Regions from separate parts of the Homo sapiens genome. Here region 2 is linked to region 1. The links are contacts of gene promoters, found by promoter capture Hi-C in human tissues and cell types (Jung and others, 2019). All regions are on one chromosome and are shown on one strand. The core of a region is centred on a gene start or on the middle of the fragment in contact, and the rest is flanking DNA. Distances in the headings are between cores, read along the strand shown.

The links. Contacts are between HindIII fragments. The study calls those that stand out against the background at their distance.
Region 2: a fragment that was not itself captured here is called in contact with the fragment with the promoter of TEX26 in region 1 in 1 of the 25 tissues and cell types used here (pancreas).

Annotation. Positions count from the first base shown.
Region 1 is chr13:30,929,472-30,935,329 of GRCh38, reverse strand. It overlaps TEX26 (testis expressed 26), which reads right to left and starts at 2,674. Exons shown (of 7, transcript NM_152325.3): 1 at 2,554-2,674. The coding sequence starts at 2,614. It overlaps TEX26-AS1 (TEX26 antisense RNA 1), which reads left to right and starts at 2,722. Exons shown (of 4, transcript NR_038287.1): 1 at 2,722-4,084; 2 at 4,456-4,529. The HindIII fragment of the contact is 5,735 bases long and covers 1-4,458 here.
Region 2 is chr13:30,986,894-30,992,751 of GRCh38, reverse strand. No RefSeq gene overlaps it. Among named protein-coding and RNA genes, the nearest start is that of LINC01066, 6.4 kb to the left of the region's middle. The HindIII fragment of the contact is 6,426 bases long and covers 1-5,591 here.

The DNA.
Region 1 (5,858 bases), core at 1,425-3,924:
CCCAGACTTCAGGCCCTCCCTGGTCAGAGGGTGGGGCCTTACTGGGGACCCCAGCCCCTTCCACCCAGGACTCTGTCTGCCTCCTGCTGCCATTCACAGCCCTGGGGCTTGGTCCCAACCCCACTCTGAGATCAGAGCCAGTGGAGAGAGGCCAGGCAGTGGGAGCAGATACCCTTTAGCCTGCAGGGATGTGGGTGGGGTATTGCCTGGCAGTGGGATCAGATACCCCTGAGCCTGCAGGGATGGATGGGTGAAGGGTGTCCTTCCTGGGGAGTCCAAGGGTGCAGGCTGCAGAGATGCCCAGGTCCTGTGCCTGGGAGGGCAGCTGCAGCTGCACCAGGGAGCTCTTGCCCCACCAACTTGGAAGAGGCAAAGCTCCCACTTGTCCCTGGCTCCTGCCTGCTTCATGGAGTGAAAGGCCCAGGTCTGCAGCCGTGGGTTCCACAGGGAGGCTCAGAGGCACAGGGAGGCTCAGACCCACAGCCGCAGTTTGGGTGGCTGTAGCCTCGCCCAGGACTGCAGGGCTCCTGCTTGCTCCATAGAGCAGGAGGCCTGGGTCTGTAGCTGCAGTTTGGGCGGCTGTAGCGGCACAGGGAGCTCCCATCCCAACTCAGAAGGGGCAGCTCCCACGGGCTCCATGGAGTGTTGCAGCCCCAGCTGTGCTTCCCTGCTGCAGCCAGCATGATGGCAGCAGCCACTGCCATCACTAGCAGTGCCGATGGCTACCTGAAGCTGGAAGACGTAAGGACCACTTCTCCCCTAGGGCCTGTAGAGGGAGTGCAGACTTGTCCAGACCTTGATTTCAGGCTCTCGACCTTCAGAGCTGTGAGCAAATACATTTTTGTTGTTTGAATCCACCAGTCTGTGGGAACACATAGCAGCCACAGGAAACTAATACAACACCTGAGAGCCCCATCTGTAGTAATTATTCAATAACAGTTAGTCATCAGTCACCATCAACCTCATCCTATTTCGGACCAAACCTGGGCAGTGGGGACACATCAAGCCTACCATTTGGAGGGTGACTCTCCCAGCAGTGGGGAATGAAGTGGCACAGAGTAGCCATTAGAGGCCCAAGCCTGGAGGTAAAGGGGCGAATTCACCTGGGGGAAAAAGAGCTTTGGAGGCAGAATCAAAGAGACCTGGTGATCAAACTGCAGTCTCAAGGAAGCTGCCTTCCCTTCTAAATTGAGCAGCTAGGACCCTCTTAACTGAACTCTCAAAGTCTGGAAGGTTTGAGGAGGACAAGGAGTGTGATTTTGCACATGTCAAGTTGGAGGCCCTGCTGTGACACCCACATGGAACTGTCTGGTAGACAGTTAGATATTCTGGTCTGAAAAAGTAGGAAGAAAGTCCAAGTCAGAGATAAAGGTTAGAGAGTTGTTGGCACCTTTATGCAGCACTTGAAGCCCTGTGCAGGATATGGTCACAAAGAGAAGGTAAGCCTAGAAGGATCAATCCTGGGGGACTCCAACAGTTCCCAGACAAGAAGGGGATGAAATGGGGAGACAGTGGGAAAACAGGGTGGTTAGAAAGGGAAGAGAAGCATCCAAAGGGGTGCTGTCGGGATGCTAGGAGGGGATCCTCCCTCCTCTGTCTCTCCTGTTTGCCTTCCCATCATATAGAAACTGAGTGTATTAGATATTTTCTGCACTAATTAAGTATTTTCATTTTCCATTCTTAATTTACAACGGAATGAATTGGAATGAAAATATGCATTTCATTCACTCTTTTGGGAGCACAATTCTAGGGAATTTGTACTTGAACAATCCTTCACTGCTCCATAGCCACTGTGGAATCACAGTTACCCAACTATACAGCAGCAATGGCCAATTATTGCCACAAGAGACTATGATGGAGCTGACTACACGGTAATCATGCCACTAGCGTCACAGCTAGAGTGGTTCTCCCTCCACAGACCCAAAAGGCTGAACTGGTGAACCTGCTGCATCTGTGGGCAGAATTAGGATGAAAAGCACTACCTCTGTGAAATACAAAATCTCTGTGGAAGAAAAATCAATTCAGGTTAGAGGCGGCAGCTGAAGGCCATGGCTCCCAGCCTGGTGCGACAGCCCAGGGAGGGCGTCTGCCTCTGCAGACACAGCTGGGACTCCATTCAGCAGCCAACCCTTCCCCCACTTTCCTTGCTGTTTCCAAGATCCTATATGGGGATCGGGACTCAGGCAGGACCTGTTCTCTTCAGAGCTTCCAGGACTTCTCTTTCTTCTTTGCCTTTGGCCCTGTTTTCCTTGGAAAATCACCAGTTCTTCCTTTTTTCCTGTCCCCTCTTAGCCAGGCACTTCCTCGAGTGTTTAAAAACCCTGCGCGTTTTAGGGAGCGGGGATTTGGCAAAGGTTATGCGAAGGACTGAAAAGGGGCAGCGTCATGAAGGCCCTGTCATTCTCCCTGACTCCCCGTCTTTTCCTCAGTTGAGCATACTCCTAAGAGCGATGCCACACCCTTAAATACTAAGGCCCCTTTTTCTCAACAGGACCCTTTCCCCGGGAAAGACCCCAGCCCCGCCCCGCAGACCGGCAGAGTCTGCTGTCTTACTTGGCTGGAGGTTGTGGTGGCAGAGAGAGGGATCCGGAGCCCTGGGCCCAGGCTGTTCCATTCTGCCCCAGGAGGCGGCCGCGGGGCCCTGGCTCCAGCTATCTCAGCGCTTGCGGGAGCCGCGGGCTGCTTTGTGACGCGTCGCCATGGAGACAAGGATCGGGTTCCAGGGAGTTCTGCCCCTGCCAAGGGGTGCTGGCCACGCAGGAGGCTTAACCTGGCCGGCGCGGGAATGGGGTGCAGAGAGCAAAGAAATGTGGCTTTGATCTTATGGATGCCTTACTTTTACATTATTTGTACAGTTCTTGCAGTGAGCTTTCCGGACCACTGTCTTGTATGTTTCCTAAGAAAAGCAAAAAGGGAAGAGATTGAAGAGAAAGTAGATTTTCAACTACAAACTTTCATCCATTTGCTTTCAGCTTAAGCAAATGTGCGCAAAGTTGTCATGGATTTTTGCAGTCAATAAAAACCAAGCAAGAAGACTGAATCCCAAGTCATCTGGTATAAATGGAAGCAGTTTCTGTGATAGTTCCACGCGGTCAGAAGGGTCATCCTGGCTTAGGAGAGGGGCAGAAGAGGAAATGCACGCGTGGAAACAGGAGTGGGCAGGGAGGATGTGACACTGTCCTCCTCACCAGGCCACGTTCCTGGCACCAACCATAGTGTTTGTGAGGGTCAATTTAATTGTTCTTGTGCTCTCATAGAGGAAGCTGTGTCTTTCATCCCCTTGTAAGAGTTTTCACTGATGAAGGGGGTCTTTTATCTTCATATCTTGGGAACTACTGAAACTGTTTCAAAGAGTCAAAGACACCAATAACTAACAGAAATTCTTGTTTTCAGGGGCAGATAAGAAAAGAAACAATTTGCTGAAACTCCCTCTGCTTATAACAAAACTGACTGAAATCAGCCGGAATCAATATGGCCAAATGCAGTTTGCGCACAGCAAGCTTGCTGATGTCACAGCCTGAATTTCTACTGCATGTTTCATACCAACTCCCTCCAAATTTGCACATGGGACCCACCAGGAAGCATGAAGAGAGAGCCATGCATGCCTGAAGACTTCCCAGATGTTCCCTTTGCTTCCACCAATCACCTGCTAACCCCAGGATCCAACCCTAAACCTTTTGTAATAAAATTACTGCCCTAAAGCCAGTACAAGACAGATTTGAACTGGACTTTTGTTTCCTCAGAAGTTAACTTGCAATGTGAAGCTTTCCTTTTCTCAAAAACTTGGTGTCATAGTGTTGGCTTCTAGTGCAGTGAGCCCCTTTTGCTGGATAACCTTACCTGGTAATTTGACATACTAGGTGGTTAGTAACTACTGACTGTCTCCAGGTTACAACACAGTTATTACCCACTTGGGTGAAAAGAGAAGACAGGAAATACATTTTGGAGTTGGCTGGCAACCTGTTTACAAAGCAATTTACAACAGTTCCTTATTCTTAAGGGGCTATTCTAATACAAGACCTCAGAGAAACAGTGCAGTGTGACAAAGGAGGAATTTATCAAAGGAGACAGAAAAAGCATCAAGGTAAGGATCCCAAATATATGTGCAAGGAATGTCTTTAAAATGAAGAGCTAAACTAGAATTTCCTGAAGGTAGAGTTCTATCCATATAATGGAATGAATATAACACATTATAAACTCTCATGTTTTGAAGCAATGGAGGGTGGAACACATTAGAAGGCATAGATGTTATTAAAAGGAATGAGTCTAAATTAGGATTTAGTAGTGGCATCTAAATTTAAAAAGTAGCACCCAATAACAGATTACTGTCTGGAAATGGTAGAGCTAATTAGCATAGCATAATTTAAGAGAAATATATGTTTAAAATAGAGCAGCAAGTATATAGAATTTTGAAAGTGAATTCTTATTAATATCTTACAATTTGTCTCATTTTAGGCAAGCTGTGAAATGGTGCGGTAGGAACCAAATAGAGAGCCAAAGGATCTTTCTGTCACTGCAGGCCCTTAGGGGTAAGCAAATCCTTCCCTGATCCCTGGTCTCCTTATCTGTAAATGAGAATACCAGCACCCACCTCACTGTGCTGTAAACATGATGAGTTCTAACAATAATTTATAAATTGTAAAATCACACAAATCTAAGATATTGCTCTTGTTGCTATTCTGATCTTCATTCCTTTTATAGTCTTTCTACTTCAAAGTGTATTTTTGCGTGGGTCCATTTTATGGCTAGCGGTATAGCACTATTCCTGCCTTTGAATTCTGGTTGCCTGAGGCAACCCTTCTAAATGATTAAGTAGAGTATTTCCCCCCTGCTTTCTTCTCTCCCTCAACAAATACTGACTGTGCACTGAATATGAGCTGTATGATGGCATCGGGGCAACACCCTGATTATTATAGTGAACAACTTCCTAGAAAAGGAGGTGCCTGAGCTGGGTCCTCAAGGATGCTTGGAGTCAACCAGGTGAATAGGGGGAGGTGACAGGTGACACAAAGTAACGCAAGGGCCCAGAGGCATGGAACACTGTGTGTAGTCCCAAGACCTTTAGTAGTTTAATATTGCCATATTGTAAAGTGTGTCAGGGGAAACTGAGAGCCGGCTGGGGTGGAAGGCCCTGCAGGCCATCCTGAGAAGCTTGGACTTCACCTGAGCATGCTTGGGTTAAACAATGCAGTGCAGGGGCCAGGTTGGAAGTTTAAGTAAATCCTGGCCTCTCATTCCAGAAGGAGGAGAGGCAAAATTCCACAACATTCTGCCAGAGTAAGTTAATCATTCAGAAATTAAAGCATCTAGGTTACTAATTTAGGTTACTGATATCTCTTTAGCAGAGTTTCAAATTGATCCAAAACAATTGAGAATAGTTGTATTGAATGGGTTAAATGTTAATTGGTTGTTTTCAGTTGAAGTGATTACAGCCAAGCGAGGTGGCTCATGCTTGTAATCCCAATACTTTGGGAGTCCAAGGCAAGAGGATCCTTTGAGCCTAGAAGTTTGAGACAAGCCTGGACAACATAGGGAGACCCCGTTTCTACAAAAAATGAAAAAATTAGGCAAGGTGATGCATATGTGTAGTCCCAGCTACTTGGGAAGCTGAGGTGGGAGGATCAATTAAGCCCATGAGTTTGAGGCTGCAGTGAGCTGTAGTGGTGCCACTGCACTCCAGCCTGGGTGACAAGAGAAAAACCCCATCTCCAAAAACAAAAAACAAAAAATTTGTGACAATTTATTTTTGCATGCACACACGCACCTGCGCATGCAGGTCCGTGCATGTGCGCGCACACACACACAAACACACACATAGAGAACATGATGTGAAGTAGTAAAGACTGGGATGGGTGGTA
Region 2 (5,858 bases), core at 1,129-3,628, 58 kb before region 1:
CTACCACCAGTCTCCCTCATTTCTCTGGAGCCACATTGACCCGCTCTTAGGACATGCAGGGCTCCTATGCTTGTTCCCTCTGCCTGGAAGGCTCTTCCCCGAGATGGTCCCAAGGTTCTCCCCTCCTCCCACACTTCCACCAGGAATGAAGTCAGTGCCATCTTATGGGGAGGGCTTCTCCCACCACCCTACCTCAAACAGCAAACTCTCAGGCCCCTCTATGCCCTTAGCCTGTTGTATTTTTCTTGATACTTCTGAACTCGACATTGTGATACATATTTACATGGCAGATTTATATGAAATACATGTTTGTATTACACCCATTTTATGTTTTTCCTCATACTTTCATACTTGTTATTATAGCAAAGATTTGTGTATTAGTTTGTCAGTTTTCTCCCTTCAGCATATTAGCTCCATGAATGTACATTTATCCCCTTTCCTGAGGAATCCACAGAGCCTAGAACTCTGCCTAACACAGTTGAAGAATGAATTGGCACTTCCCAGTTTGCCAGTGGCTCCCAAATAGTTCATCTACTTAATCCTTGAAATAACTGCTCCAGTGTTGTAATCCTCACCTGCATAGGAAGAAAAAAATCCAGATAAGATGTGATGCATGTGAGATTTCATAATCAGTAAGCAATACAGCCATTTCTGTTTGGAGACGGGCCAGCCCAGCTCTCTGTCCTCAAGTGCAGGGTTCTTTAAACTTCACAAAAATGACCTCTCCCAGCCTTTAAAAAAAAAAGTGTGGAGATGCTCTACTTTTAAATACTACATGTAAGATGGTTCACGCCATTCTCCTGCCTCAGCGCTCGCCACCGCGCCCGGCTAATTTTTTGTATTTTTTTTTTTAGTAGAGACGGGGTTTCACCGTGGTCTCGATTTCCTGACTTCGTGATCCGCCCGCCTCGGCCTCCCAAAGTGCTGGGATTACAGGCGTGAGCCACCGTGCGTGGCCAATTTGCTGAACATTTTTTCAGGCTCTACATTTATGTAAAGATGTACAATTTTATATAAATGAGATCATACTATTTTGTAACCTGCTTTTTTCACTTAGCAAGATATCTAGAGTGTGTTTCCGTATCAATAAAAATAGACCTAAATATGTGCATAATGTTTCATTCTGAATTTCCTTAAAGGTTCCGTATTAATGAGCATAACGGTTGTTGACATTTTTTCCGGAGTTTTATATAGTGCTTTGAGCGGGGCCCTAAAAAGTTAAGAGAAAAAGTTAAAGAACGGGCTTAGCTGGGGTAAAGAGGAACAAATATTCCTAGAAATGGGGTCAACTGCAAAAGGCGCGCTAGCACTCAGGCACCCTGTGACAGGCACTCAGCTCACAGCCCATCTATGCCCCAGCATCCTGTCCACAAGCATTTAGCCTCCTTATAAAACTCCCCTCCAGGCCTTGCCTCTTGGCAGACATCCTTCCTTCCGCTGCCTTGCCCGTTATATCCTTGCAACATACCTCCCCTTTCTGCAATAAACCTGCCTTTCTAAACTCATTCCTGTCTTGGTAAATTATTTTAACTCTTACGCACCAGTCCCAGACAATCACTGACCATGACACTTTGATGAACAATCACAACAAAAACCGGTATGTAAGTTTCCCATTTGTGCAAAGACGTCATTAGAGTATATTTATGAAAATGGAACTCGGAAACATATTGCCAAACTGTCCCTTGGAAAGACTGTACCCAACTTACACTCTGTTATGAGTTGAATTGTATCCCTCAAAAAGATATGTTGCATTTCCAACCTCCAGAACCTGTGAATGCCGTTTTATTTGGAAATAGGGTCTTTGCAGATGTAATCAAGACAAAGTCATGAGGGATTAGAGTGGGCCATAATCCAATATGAGTGGAGTTCTTATAGGAAGAGGAGACTTTGGACACAGACAGACACAGAAGGAAGGTAGAGAATGCCATGTGACAACAGAGGCAGAGATTAGAGTGATAAATCTACAAACCAAGCAATGCCTAGGCTACCAGAAGCTGGAAGAAGCAGGGAAGGATCTTTCCTTATAAGCTTCAGAGGTGCATGGCCCTGCCAAACAGCCTGGTTTCTGACTTCTAGCCCCTAGAACTATGAGATAATAAATTTCTGTTATTTTAAGCCGCCTAGTTTGTGGTGCTTTGATACAGCAACTCTGGGAGATTGATACACATCCCATGAATGCACGAGCGTGCCCTTTACCACCCTTGCTGATGCTGGGTCATCTTTGCCAATGTGACAAACAATTGTCCATTTTTCCATTGAGGCGTTTGTTATTTTCTTATTGATTTACATGAACTACGATTAATATTTGCATAGATAATACTACTATTGCTACTTTTTAATATATGACGCAAATACTTTTTCTGTTATTTGTCTCCTAAACATTTTTACGGTTATGATTTTTTTTTGGTGGGGGGGAGGTCTTTTTAGTTTGTTTTAGCCATACTTTATGTAGACAAATTTAGTAGTCTGTTTATTTAAGTTTCTGGTTTTTGCAGCATGCTTAGAAAGGGCTTTCCTTAGCCACAGATTTTCTTTAAAAATTTTTCTTTATAGTAGAATGATTTATAATCCTTTGGGTATATGTCCAGTAATGGGATTGCTGGGTCAAATTGTATCTCTGGTTCTAGATCCTTGAGGAATCACCACACTGTCTTCCACAATGGTTGAACATGTATGTTTATTGCAGCACTATTTACAATAGCAAAAACTTGGAACCAACCCAAATGCCCATCAATGATAGACTGGATAAAGAAAATGTGACACATATACATCATGGAATACTATACAGCCACAAAAAAGATGAGTTCATGTCCTTTGCAGGGACATGGATGAAGCTGGAAGCCATCATTCTCCGCAAGCTAACACAGGAACAGAAAACTAAACACTGCATGTTCCCACTCATAAGGGGCAGTCAAACAAGGATAATACACGGATGCAGGGAGGGGAACAACACACACTGGGGCCTGTCAGGGGGTAGAGGGCAAGGGAAGGGAGAGTATTAGGACAAATACCTAATGCATGCGGGACATAAAACCTAGAAGACGGGTTGATGGGTGCAGCAAACCACCATGGCACACGTATACCTATGTAACAAACCTGCATATTCTGCACATGCATCCCAGAACTTAAAATAAATAAATAAATAAAATAAAAATTCTTCTAGTAGTTGGAAAATTTTATGTTATAGCTTATAGTTTACATTTGTTTATTTCTTCCATCTGGAATTTATTTTTGTTGAGTAGCAATTTGAAGGTGCATCTTTTTTTTTCTCCAGAGGATTTTTTTTTAAATAACGTGTATTCAATAAGCCGTTTTTTTTCTCACGGTTTTGCACTGGCACCTTTATCACACACTAAGTTCTCATATATATTTTAGCCTTTTTCTTGATCCTATTTTTGTCCTATTAATCTGCTCATCTTTCCTGTTACCTGTAACATAGTACAGTATAGCAATTTTATAATACATTTTAATATTTGTTAGGGAAGTTTTCTCCTAATTACTCATCTTACTTATCAAAAATTTCCTGGTTATTCTTGATATTGTTCTTTCCCAAATGCGCTTTATAATTTTTTGTCAAGTTACCTGCACGCACACACAACACTCATAAAAAAATACTGTTCGAAATTCTACTGGTGTTAACTTTATGTCAATTTAGGAAGAAGTGGCATTTTTACAATGTTGAATCTTCTTTTATTTATTTATTTATTTATTTATTTTTTAAGATGGAGTCTCGCTCTGTTGCCCAGGCTGGAGTGCAGTGGCGCAATCTTGGTTCACTGCCAGCTCCACCTCCCGGGTTCACGCCATTCTCCTGCCTCAGCCTCCCGAGTATCTGGGACTACAGGCGCCCGCCACCACGCCCGGCTAATTTTTTTGTATTTTTAGTAGAGACGGGGTTTCACCGTGTTAGCCAGGATGGTCTCGATCTCCTGACCTCGTAATCCGCCTGCCTTGGCCTCCCAAAGTGCTGGGATTACAGGCGTGAGCCAACGTGCCCGGCCTGAATCTTCTTTTATAAGACTGCACTGGCTCTTCATTTACCGAAGCCTTACTTTATGTCCTTCAGTAGGTTTCATGGGTTTTCATCATATGACTCCAATACAATTCCAATTACGTGTTATCCAAAGTATTTTATGGGGGTTTATAGTTACCATGAAATAATAAACATTAGACTAATTAAAAAAGATTAGTTAGTAGCTGATTACTCATTGACCAGTTATATCCATAAACTAATTATAAACAGCAAATAAGAAAAGACTTGTGATGTAAGATTTACACCTTTAATTTGGCTAAACAGGTCTAGAAAATCCCCTGAACCCCAAACTGGCACAAATTGGTACATGGCAAGACCCTGGGAGCAGAGATCACATAGGGATCCTATCCAAGATGTGTTTTGACTTGCATATTTAAAAAATTTGAATTAGTTGGAAACTGTTAAAAGACAGAAAATTTCAAATAAAAACCCTATTCCTGACTTTTGATTTCTGTTCAGGAATCTAGAAAGTCAGAAACGGTGTATTTCCCACCCTAATGAGGTAACAGCAATAGAAAATCGGACAAACTGCAAGTTCATAACTTTTCTTATGCCCATCAGAGAGCTGACGACACAGGGCAACCAAAACTCAGGAGACACAGGTATCTGCAGGGAGAGATGGGACACTATCATTTGCTTACCTGAGCCAGAAGTGGCCGGACACCAGAAAGAAGAATTCCGTGAGAATACTTACTAACTTGATATAGGCTGAGAGGATGGGCCGGCAAGAGAGTGTGGTGCTTGACGGGGCTGCAAACGTAGGGGAGTTCACACCCTCTTGTAGACTTTTCTCCATGTACCCCACCAAGGACTCACAAAAGGGAGTGGTGAACCTTGGGAGAAAACATCCTTCTTGGTACAAGCCTTGAAGACAGCAGCTAATTCAGGAGAAGCTTGAAATCTTAACCAGGCCTCTCCCTTAACTCCCCTATGGAACAAAGCCTTCATCTGCAAGAGGATTGGGGAAAACTCACTGCTGCTGGGGGAAGGGAACAGAAAACATCCTCTATTCATGGGGGAGGGACAGGAATAAGTGCTGGGGGAAAGGAAAGAGCCCTGAGAAGGCCATGCCCTGAGACCCAGGGACACAGTGCCTGCTTAAGAATAAGGCTTAACCAAAACAACAGAGAACACCCCCACCACAAGTCAAACAAGCATTGAGGAATCAGTAACAGTAGAACACAGTGTTCTACTGTTCCCCAGGAAAATAAGAGAGAGGCCTGGGCCAGGCACTGTGGCCCGTAATCCCAGCACTTTGGGAGGCCGAGGTGGGCGGATCACCTGAGGTCAGGAGTTTGAGACCAGCCTGGCCAACTTGGTGAAACCCCATCTCTACTAAAAATACAAAAATTAGCTGGACATGGTGGCAGGTGCCTGTAATCCCAGGTACTCAGGAGGTTGAGGCAGGAGAATCACTTGAACCCAGGAGGTGGAGGCTGCAGTGAGCCGAGATCATGCCATTGTACTCAGTCTCTGTGACAGAATGAGACTCTGCCTCAAAAAAAAAAACAAAAAACAAAAAAAAAACACAAAGAACATTTTCAGAGATAAAGAGGGATAGTATATCATGAAAAAGGGATCAATTCACCAAGAAGACATAACAGTGTGTTTGCAGCTAATAACAAAACTTCAAAATACATTACCGAAAACTGGTAGGACTGAAAATAAAAAGATAAATCTGCAATTATAGTTGGAGACTTCAGCACTCTTCTCTCAGTAATTGACAAATACACAGAAAATCAGTAAAGATACAGAAGATTTAAACTACACCATCAACAAACTTGACATAATTGACATTAATAGAATACCGAAAAGCACATACACA